Regions from separate parts of the Homo sapiens genome. Here region 1 is linked to region 2. Evidence: promoter capture Hi-C in human tissues and cell types (Jung and others, 2019). All regions are on one chromosome and are shown on one strand. Each heading gives the region's core, a stretch centred on a gene start or on the middle of the fragment in contact. The rest is flanking DNA. Distances are from core to core; before and after follow the strand shown. Region 1 holds the start of GPR141 (G protein-coupled receptor 141). Region 2 holds the start of AOAH (acyloxyacyl hydrolase).

The links. The method cuts DNA at HindIII sites, captures the fragments that hold promoters and counts their contacts. A contact is called where the count stands out against the background at its distance.
Region 1: the fragment with the promoter of GPR141 here is called in contact with the fragment with the promoter of AOAH in region 2 in 1 of the 25 tissues and cell types used here (hippocampus).

The regions. Positions count from the first base shown.
Region 1 is chr7:37,682,464-37,688,902 of GRCh38, forward strand. GPR141 (G protein-coupled receptor 141) reads left to right here and starts at 1,303. Exons shown (of 3, transcript NM_001381946.1): 1 at 1,303-1,440; 2 at 2,997-3,120. The HindIII fragment of the contact is 6,620 bases long and covers 1-3,387 here.
Region 2 is chr7:36,723,244-36,728,447 of GRCh38, forward strand. It overlaps AOAH (acyloxyacyl hydrolase), which reads right to left and starts at 1,251. Exons shown (of 21, transcript NM_001637.4): 1 at 779-1,251. The coding sequence starts at 905. The HindIII fragment of the contact is 16,117 bases long and covers 1-5,204 here.

The DNA of each region.
Region 1 (6,439 bases), core at 53-2,552, 960 kb after region 2:
GTTGATATTTAATAAATTAGTACTTTTTAATTGACCAATTTCTATATAATATTAACATGCTGTCTACATCAGGAGTTCTCAACCCCTGGGCCACAGACCAGCAGTGGTTCGTGGCCTGTTAGGAACTGGGCTGTACAGAAGGAGCGGAGCAGTGCACGAGTGGGCCAGCAAAGTTTCGTCTATATTTACAGCTGCTCCCCATCACTTGCATTACTGCCTGAGCTCCACCTCCTGTTAGATCAGCAGCGGCATTAGATTCTCATGGGAGCATGAACCTTATTGTTGAATTGTCCATGCTAGGGATCTAGGTTGCAGTGTTCCTTATGAGAATCTAATGTCTGATGATCTATCATTGTCTTCCATCACCCCCAAATGGGACCATCTAGTTGCAGAAAAACAACCTCAGGGCTTCCACTGATTCTACATTATGATGAGTTGTATAATTATTTCATTATATATTATCATGTAATAACAATTGAAATAAAGTGCGCAATAAATGTAATGTGCTTGAATCATCCAGAAAACATCCCCACCCCTGTCTGTGGAAAAATTGTCTTCCATGAAACCTTTCCCTGGTGCCAAAAAAGGTTGGGGACCACCGATTTACATAATTAGAAAGTTTATAAAATCCTAATTTATAGAGTGGTCATCAAATGGTAGGAAAGTTCAAGCAGTTTGAGGAACTGATGTTTTTTTTTCTCAATACTTGCAGTGCATCTCTATGACTGTATGGGCAGCTTCTTCTGGAGATAATGTTGACAGTCTAAAAAGTTAAGCTGTGACGATTTACTCCCCTCCCCTGCCCCTATAGCACACTCTGATTTTAAATATTTTCTCTCTTAATTCTAATTAAATGACATAATTATAGTGCCATATCCCAGTCAATGCCATTTATCAGTGACAGCTAATTAACACAATTATAAAAGTGGGAGCCCTAAGTTACCAGTGAGGTATAGAGCAACTCTGGAAATTTTCTCCTTACTGAAAGGAAATATTACACATATTCCTTCACCAGAAGAACAATACACAGTTTACCTTCCCTTTTTGTTTTTGATAATACCACTTTGTTCCCCATTCTCTACAAAATTTAGTTTGAAGAACATTTTAAAAACTTGATTCATCGTAGTCATCAATCCTTCATAAATATTTCTTGACAATTGGCCTCTCTGTAGTTTGCAACCTGGACTACTCATGTTTAAGAGCTTGGTTTTTCAAGACTATTGTGTTTCAAATGGTTTTGAGGTTTTATGGTCTGTTGACATTCTGAGGAACTTAGAACACATTCACTTCCTTTTGCTTGGTGAGCTGTCCAGAGCCTTTGCAAATGCATGCAGAGCATGGAAATGACCCAGCTGCCCTGCTGTTGAAACAGAATCCTATTTGGAAGGCAGACATGTGGCCCATCTCTGTAGCCATCACTGAGAAATCTGGATTTTCAAGGTAAGTGCAGATGACTTAGGTTTGGGGAGACATGAATGAAAGTGCTATAGAAATAAAGCACACTTAATTTGTTGGCATAGTCCTAATTCAGAATCTTCAAATGGTTCTGCTCTAAAAAGCAAGCTTATTCTCTGACCACAACTCCTCCTTTATAGAAAGAATTGTTCTATTCTTACTGCTTAGGATATGCTGCTCTGAAAGTAAAACCTAATATTTATGGGTAAATGTGAACAAAAATGATTTCAGAATCTCTCTGTCAAAAAACCAGCTAAACATATCATAGAATTTTTTAGAGCAGTTGGCACTATTGAATTTGTGTATAATTATTCAAATGCTTATCTTTTAAGTGATGTCTTAATTTCCTTTTGTTATGAAAATCCTTTAACTCTATTACTGCATTATTTTCAGATAGAGTTTGAAACTATTCAGGCAGCCCTAGTCAATAGAAGGAAACAATCTGTAAGCAATCAAGTACTTAGAAATTTCTAAAAGAAGTATATTCAAAATAACATGTGAAATAATGGTAATTATAATTCTTTCCATCCCACTTTTAAAGTACTACTTAACAGGAAGGATCTGAAAATAACTTCTTAAATAAGATAAATAAAAAGAACAACATCTGTTCAAATAATTTTACTTTAAGTAAAATACTTTCTATACCAGTATTTTCTACTTCCAAGAAGTAATATTTTTCAAATATGTGGAATGAAATATAATGCAAAGTTTTTAAACAATAAGTCAGTAATGCCTAACCTGAATATAGGCATTTAATTTTGTTTCTTTTACAAATTTGTTATATGACTTTTGATAGGTCACTTAATTCTCTGGACTTCAGCGTTCTACATAACTGCACAATTACTTATCTGAGAAATTACTTATTAAGTACTCCAGAATTACATGTCTTTGTTTTCTGTTTTATTGGGTTTAAATCAGTTAATTAGGATTTTAATCAGTCAATAGAAGTAATGGGAAGACCAATGGATGAGGAATCAGGTGGTGTGAATTCTAGTCCTCTGTTTTCTAGTAATTGGCTGCATAATTTGGGGGAATATTGTCTAAGGATTCCAGACCAGGGGTTGGCAAACTTTTTCTACAAAAGCCTTGATAGTAAATATTTTAGGCTTTGCAAGCCAAGAGGTAGAACTGAGGCTAATATATTGGTACTTACATAACCATTTAAAACTATAAAAACCATTCGTAGCTCACAGGCTGTATAAAAACAAGAAGTGAGCCAGCTTTGGCTTAGGTGACACAATTTTCCAACTATTCTTCTAGCAATGATTTTCAACAATTATAAAATGGAAGTTGTAGACTGGATAAGAGATGCTCAGCTAAGGGAGTTCCTGGATGGTCTTTAGATTGATACACCAATCCTCTGAAATTGCATGCAAAAATGTAAGTGTGTGTTTTTCTTTTCTTCCTTTTGTGCGTGTGTGTGTTTCTCTCCCTCCCTCCTTCCTTCCTGCCTGCCTGCCTGCCTGCCTGCCTGCCTTCCTGCCTTCTTCCCTCCCTCCCTCCCTCCATCTCTCTCTCTCTTTCTCTCTTTCTTTCTTCAGGGCCTTTCTCTCTGTTGCCCAGGCTGGAGTTTAGCGACTCAATCATGGCTCACTGACTGCAGCATCGACCTCCGGGGCTCAAGTGATCCTTTCATCTCAGCCTCCTCAGTAGCTGAGACTACAGGTACTTGCCACCACACCTGGCTAATTAATTAATTTTTTTTTTTAAATAGAGACAGGGTCTTGCTCATGTTGCCCAGGTTAGTCTCAAACTCCTGGGCACAAGTGATCCTCCTGCCTTGGCTTTTCAGAGTACTGGGATAACAAACATGAGCCACTGTGCCTGGCAGCACTTTTTTTTTTTTTTTTTTTTTTTTAAATAAGAAAAACACGGATTGATTTTCAAAGTGGTCCAAAATCCAATTGTAGTTAAGGACCACAGGTCTAGCTAATTTCTAAAAGTGCTTTCCAAATTTAAAATCAATGAGCCTGTGAAATGTTTACTGGTGTCTACTATGGGTAAGCCATTGTGCTAGCACTATAAGAGACGTAGCATGTTGTGACTAAAATAATGTGTTAAATATATTGTTAAATAATATGTTAAAAAATATATTTTTGGGACAGGGCCTCGCTCTGTCTCCAAGGCAGGAGTGCAGTGGCACAATCACAGCTCACTGAAGCCTTCACCTCCTGGAATCAAGTGGTCCTCTCACTTCAGCCTTCCGAATAGCTGGGAGTGCAGGTGTGAGCCACCCTGCCTGCCTTTTTTTTTTTTTTTTTTCTTTAGAGAGGGGGTCTCACTATGTTGCCAAGGCTGGTCTCAAATCCCTGGGCTCAAGCAGTCTTCCTGACTCAGACTCAGACTAAAAATATTTTAAAGAAGTTAGAATATGTGCAAGTCTGTGCTGTCTTTCAAAGTAATAACATTGAAAACAATTTTCAATTGATCAAAGATTTCTGAGACATTGCTTTGCAAAGTGTTTTCAAAGCTAGTTCATACGTTATACCAAAGTATTTTCCAAATTATGTTATTGTCCCATCTTATTTTGAATGACAATGTTATTATTCGTGACAGTCATAATCAAACTTAATCTAAGCATAGTCTGTTTCCTAAAAACATAATTTCCTTAAGGGCAGGAACTATGCCTTTGCTACCTTTATATTTTAGAACAGGGTTTGACCCATAATAAGTACCCAGCATCTTTGGAATGGTTATATGAGTGAATAAGTGAATGAAATGATGAAGGTATTATCATGGAGATTACGTACCATAGATAGTGAAGGCTTGGAACTCCAGATGGTCTAAAAGCAGTAGTTGCTAAGTCCAAAGATGGCTTCTCTTTTCAAAATTGGATGTAACTGTGATTTCAAAATAATTGGCCAACTCAATATTGCAGTTCCTGATGATTAAGTCACTTTTTAAAAAGAGTGAAATTTGTGGAATTTAATTAACATAGGAGAGAGAAATACTTTTTACAAGGTTGCTAGTAACCTACTCTCTGGGATGGCGTGAGTGGAGAGTGAAATTTTGTTAATGAAAAGCATTGCCATCAGCATCTGAGCCCCTCGTGTCCTGAGACTGGGTAGAAGATAGTATCAGCTGGAACATCATGCATAACTGGTAGCTTTTCTGGGAAATCCAAAAGTCAAGTCTGGTAGAATTTAGGGCACCACTCTGCTCCCTGATAAAGAAGTTCAGACTGAGCTCCACTGCCTGCCCAATTGATGATGTCAGTCGGAGCACTGTTTCCTGGGAATTTCCCACAGCTACCCAGGGCAGGGGAATAACTTGTGATCAATCAAATTGTAGCTCTGTTCTCACTCCAGGAACAATTCCACTAAAGGAAATCCAATCTATAATATCTAGTATATGATTCATTCACTTCTTAGGGAAATTTAAGATTTAAAATGTTGAGAAATGGTAATGAAAAACCTGAGTAGCTTTGTATATAGTTGGTGTCATGCCTGAGACATCCTTATTCAAAAAAGTGCCTCTCACCTCTACTCTTGTCATCCTCTCATCTCAGAAGCTGTTAGGAAATAGAAATATACTATTTGCTTTGGGATACAATTATACAGTGAGCCTGTGCAGTATCACTCTATATTAAATAGCACCATTTTCTTCACACATTTAGCAGTTCTACTGAGGACATATTCCCGGATCTCCTTAAGGATTGAGATAAGTCCCAAATATAATCCAAAGACCACATGCTTCATGAATGGGAGCTCGAATATGTCTTATGATCCAAGGTCTCACTTGGATGTGGCAGGAAGCTTAGTCCCCTCTCTGAGGATTTCTGAGACTCCCTGGGCAGTGCTTGCATGTTCTACAAATTCAAGACTGGTAGCACACACTCCTCTCGCTTCGACTGCTGTCCCAAGCTCCATTTTCAGATGACCCCTGCACTTCCCTGGAAGGCTTTACTCCAAAACGTGGTCAAGACCCCTTCCATTCCCTCTCAAACACAAGTAAACTTAAATCTGTGACAAAGCTATTTTTGGAGCAAACTTTTTCTTAAAGGACCAGATCATAAATATTTTAGATTTTGTGAGCCAAACAATCTCTGTTGCAACGATACAACTTACAATTGCAATGTGAATGCAACCACAGACGATGCATAAATAAATAAGCTTGGCTGTGATCAGATAAAAACTGTGTTTACAAAAACGAGTGGCCAGCCCATGGGATGTACTTTGCTGGCCCATGAACTATATTGAATGCTTCGTGTCAACTTTTAAAAACTACTATGTAGTAGGCTGGGCGCGGTGACTCACGCCTGTGATCCCAGCACTTTGGGAGGTGGGTGGATCACCTGAGGTCAGGAGTTCGAGACCAGCCTGGCCAATATGGTGAACCCCCGTCTCTACTAAAAATACAAAAATTGGCTGGGGCATGGTGGTACACGCCTGTAATCCCAGCTACTCAGGGGGCTGAGGCAGGAGAATCACTTAAACCCAGGAGGCAGAGGTTGCAGTGAGCCAAGATTGCACCATTCCACTTCAACCTGGGCAACAAGAGCAAAACTCCATTTGAGAAAATAAATAAATAAATAAATAAATAAAATTACAATGTAGTAAAAAGAGATATAAAACTGACAGTTAGAGAATGCCTTCCAGAGGTATCAGCACTTCCCTTCCTGGAGGTGTCCATCATTCATTTTAGCCCTGGCCTGAGGCCATGCTACTGAGACGCACTCATCCTTCCTGGCCAGAAGTCCTCTCTCCTCCTTGCCTTCACTTCCACAATTTCAGGTTCTTCTCCGCACAGGTTAAGCCCCAGCTAGGGATGTGAAAAACAAGTTCATGTCATAGTCATCTGACAAGAGGAAGGCCCATTGAATAGAAATGTGGTCCATGGAGGTCGGAAGCATCTCTGAAACTACCAGTAGCACTTACCTTCCATTAATACCACTAAAGGGCTTATCAAAATTTTCCTTTCTTGACTAAAGAGAGAGTCTGCCATAAAGACAATTCTTTTCCCCTTTCTTTTAAAAATTATTATT
Region 2 (5,204 bases), core at 1-2,500:
CATCTAAATGCCACCACTATTATGAGAATTCCCATGTTATGAGAGCTACAATGTGAATATCAAAGATCTTACCTTACTTCCTGCTCTCATCCAAAAAAAACAAACAAAAAAAACCTCTTGGAAATAAAACACTTCATTAACAGATGAGCCAAGAAGCCATATCAACGCTCAGCGTCTCCAGGTGATCGCCAAATCTGGATTCTCTGAGAGACGGAAGGAAGCTAAGATGGTTGAGTCCTTACTGTGTGCACATGCCACAGATTTACATGCATGGTCACAATTTCCATGGTATCCCTATGAGATGGGTCTCACTCACTTCAGTTCACCAATAAGGACACAGAAGCATGGAGAGGGTTAAGTACATTGCTCCAGGTTTCCACAGCCAGTAGGAAATGGGAGAGAAGGGTAGGAGGAGGGCAGTGATTCAAACTCAGATGTGTTTATATGAGGTCAAAGCCCATGAAAAGCAGTAAAAATTTCAGACTAAAATAGCCTGAAATAATAGTTACCTATACAAGAAGAAAAAATTCCAATCGCCAATGAGGTGGAAGAGTTTTATGCCCAATTTAAACTAGTATGCTTTTTATTCACATAGATGTATGTAGTGTCAATGTCTACTCTTAGACTCCACATTTCTCTGTGTCAGTGAGGTTACTGGTGCCTTACCTGGAATCTTACAATTCTTGATTTAATAAAATATGTGATTTATTACGCAAGCAAAGTACTGGATCCCATTGTTATGTCTACATAGAAAATACAAAAATATTTATTTGCATACCTACACAGGTGTGCCCATTCGAGAGGCTGGGCCTGGACTGGTCATCGTTGGCTGGAGAGGCCGAGGACTGAAGAGACAGGAGCAAGAATAGAGGCGCCACCGTAAGGATTTTCCAGGGGGACTGCATCTCCGAGCTATGCACCCCAAGTGATCACCCGGCTTTGGAAGCTCCCAACTGAGGGATGCTGGAGCTGAGGCTGCAGAATCAATTGATCTCTCTCTCCTTCTCTTCCTCACTCTCTTTGACACACACACCCCACCCTCTCACATACACACTTTTCAATAAGTGTGAAGTGAATAAAAGCACACATAAACACTCACAGACCCACAGCTTGCTCTTGTTGGACCCTGAGAGAGCCACACACAAAGAGCTGGAGGGAGTCTGTGGTGTGCGGTTCTGCTGAGGTAAAGACTGCAGGATAAAGAAAACCCAAGTTGCACAGTGGCACAACTTCCGTGCTCCCTGGCTCAGTGAAGTTAGTGTGCATAAACCCCGTGAGCCTCGAGGCTTGCCGGAACTGATCTGTTGGGTTGGTTAGGAGGCCCTTCCCCTTTCATTCTTGCAAAACAAAACAAAACGATACTAAAGCCAAAACTGAGAAGAAAAAAGAAAAAAAAAACTAATCCACAAGCACACAACCCTTTAACAATTTGATCAGCAGCACCCACATATTGTAGAAATTCTAATTGGTTACATTCAGAACTTACTTAGTCTTGTTTTCAACAGCTTTATATGGTAAGGTTGTGATCCTTATTTTGTTGTAAAAGGATATTCTGGTCAAATAATATCTTTCCTCTGGAGAAATTGGGTTATTCCTTGAAGGGTCAAGGCCTTTTATTTGGTGTGCAGAAAATAAACAGTACAGAAAATAATGGGCAGTTAGCATGGTGGGATTTTAGACCTAATGAGAAAAAACATGGGTTAGAATTAATCAATTCACAGTTGCTAGGCTGTGCACAATGCATCTTTTTTTTCTCCAGAATTTCGAAGTGCATTTTGTGGATGATTTGTTAAGAGACTGATTTTCTGCTCTGAAGAATAGAACTGAACACTGTCTTTCTGAGGGAAAAAAAAAATCGGAACCAGATCATAGATAAAAGACATATAATCTAAATGTTTCTCTCTAAAATAAGATAAAACAAAATCATATGCCATTCTCAGTCAAGATAAGAGGACAGGGCCAAAGTACCACAGTCTAGGTAAGTGTAGGAGGTCATGAGATTCTGTTTCTCTCTGCTTAGGCTCTGAGGGAGCTTATTACAAATTTTGAAATATTATAGAAGCTATCTAAATTGTTAGCAATTAAAAAAAATAGCATTTGGAGTAGCAGGCAAAGTTTTAGAGTAGCATCCTTTCCAGGATGTAGGAAATACCAGTTTTTATGGTTGGAAGATTTCTTGTGCAGTCATTAGTCTTACAAGCACCGATGGGGCTACAATTCCCAAACCTGCTGCAGAGATAGCACAAGTCAGAGTGTTTCCCTAATTACACTTCCAGCCCAATACTGAGGATATCGTTAGGCGTCCATGGGCCTGTGACTTCCTCTGACTCTAAGGTGCTGCTGCTTCAGTTCTTCACTCTGTGACTAAGGGGAGCTCTGGGGTCACTAGGACCACCACAGGGGTGAGGCCTAGAGAAGTTCCAGAGACTTCCAAGGGAGGCTAAATAAAGGACTGATTGATTAGGAACTCAGATTGTGAAGACAGAAAGGCTCATGCTTACGTCTCATGTCTACTGTTTATTCTGAGTAATATATTAGACCAGTGATGTAACTTTCCCCCCTTCAGTGTCTTGTTTTTGTTGTTGTTGTTGTTGTTTGTTTGTTTTTTGAGACAGGGCCTTGCTTTTTCATCCAGGCTGGAGTGCAGTGGTGTGATCACAGCTCACTGCAGTGTTGACCTCCTGGGTTCAAGTGATCTTCCCACCTCAGCCTCCCAAGTAGCTCATTTCTATTGGGATAATGGTAATATCCGCTCCAATGCGCTGCTGGAAGCACTCGAATACATGATGTATCCAAACAACAAAGCAGCATGGCTGGCAAGAAGTAAGTGCTTAGTGCATCTGTCTATGACTCTAGCAGGAGTGTGATGAAACCTGCACCCCAGACCAGCTTCAAGAGAATTCCAAGACGCCCATGGTAGTTGTAGGCCATCATGTCATACATGGGAAATGGTGAGGACAGGAAAAGGGAGGATTTATTGAATACCTTCCAGCTGTGCTACAGCACTCCAGGAGTGTGTGGTCTAGTTTGTCTAATCCATAAATGGGTGAGGACTCTCCTGAGGGCTTCTGGAAGAGCATTTGACACAGGCTTTGGGCCTCTTGAGGCTCTCCTGGTCTCAATGTATAGCTGCGAGCAGGTCTGGAAACTCTTAGAGTGAGAGGGATTTCTTGGTATGCCGGAAATGCAAGTTTTGTGCCCTTCATCGCATGTATGTGGGCCAGGCAGTGCCATTCACAACCATCCCAGGGATGGTCGGCTCTGAAACTCTCTAGTGTGCTCAGGCTTCGGGGCTGGTCACAGTGGGAGTCGCTGACTTAGCTGTGCAGTATTGAGCAAGCCCCTTCCTGTTTCCAGAGGTGACAGTCCTCAGCTAGAAAAGGGAGGTGAGACTATCTACTTCGTAGGAATATATCATGGTAAAACCTGACACATAGGTTTTCAGTAATGGAAGGATTTTTCATGCTTGGAGGGTGAGTTCTTACTGGGCATGATCAAAGGAAGAATGCAGAAATCAGAAAGTGATTTCGCCAGCAGAAGCTGGAACAAAGTGCACGTGTGCACAGACCACTGAACAAAACATCCCTCTCCGTCACCAGGATGGAGTGGACCCTCCCATTTGCACAGTTGTCCTTCACACTGGCTGGTATCATTGCCCCTGACAGGGCTGCCTTTGCTCATCAAGTACTGAGTGCAAATGACTTGGGATCTTTGCACAGCTTGCCAAAAGGCCCTGGACCTACCTGTGGTTTAGAACAACTAGTCAGGCCCTGGAGAATGTTCCTGCAGGACCCCACTGTCAGATGTTCCAATTTTGAATCATCTCGAAATCTGCTCTTGAAAATGAGATTTCTTCCCTGAAGCACTTTGTTACTGATTTCACTCAAACAGCTCTGATTCAAACCACTGCTTTCCCCTGTGCCATGGAAGGCTAAGGCTTTGTGATCCCCAAGTGTTGCACCTGTGGTCTGCTTGTTCAGTATGAATATGCTTCCTGAATATTTTTTGACCACATTGGCCTCAACCACCTCATCCACAGCAAGTTCCTTAATCAGAAAAAAAAAAAAAAAAAAAAGAGGTGGGTGATGGGAGATCCTGTAAAAGCTGGCACTGTCACCAACACGTGTCTCGTCTTAGACTTTCTCCTCTCTCTAAGGCCCAGGTCCATGCTGCCCTGTTACTCCTGGCTGCCCAGGACTGTGTACAGCAGTCCTCAGTTCCCATCTACCAAAACCAGGCCCTCTGCTGCTCCCCTCCTCCTCAGTCAGAGCTTATTAACGCTAGCCTCATTCTATTCTGTTCTGCTGTCTGCTAAGGACAGGGTAAATTAACCCATGCTGAGGATGCATGGGGGCTCATTAAAAGAGCTCTGGGCTAGGATGGGGGGCCTGTGTCATGGGCTCCCCTCCTAGTAGCTGTGTGCCCTGGGTAAGCTGCTCCACCTTTCAGAATACCAGTTTATTTTACTATAGAATAGGGCATATAATGTCAATATTTAAGAAAATTGTGAGAATTAGAGAGACAACATGAATTTAAAAACATAATATTAACTGTTAGATGAATGTGAAGCTGACAATGAATTCACATTATTCTTCTCAAGTAGCATTGAAATTTTGGGGGAAGTTTTTTAAATCAAGATTTTAAAAATTGCTACATAATAACTGTACATATTTCTGGTGTACATGTGACATTTCAATACGTGCATGCAATGTGTAATGATCAAATTAGGGTAATTAGGATATCCGTCATCTCAAATATGTATCATTTCTTTGTCTTGGAAACATTTAAAATTCTCTTTTCCAGCTATTTTGAAATATACAATGAATTGTTGTTAACCAAAGTCACCCTACTGTGCTATTCAACACCAGGACTTATTCCATCTAACTGTATTTCTGTAGCCATTAATCAATCTCTCTTTATTCACCCTTTCCCACCCTTCCAAGTCTCTGGTATCTATCGTTCTATTCTCTACCTCCTTGAGATCACCTTCTTTAGTTTCCACAAGTGAGTGAGAACATGCAGTATTTGTCTTGCTGTGCCTGGCTTATTTCACTTAACATAATAACCTCCAGTTTCATCCATGTCGATGCAAATGACAGGATTTCATTCTTCTTAATGGCCAGATGGTATTCCATTGTGTACATGTACCACATTTTCTTTATCCATTTATCTGTTGATGGACACTTAAGTTGATTTCATACCTT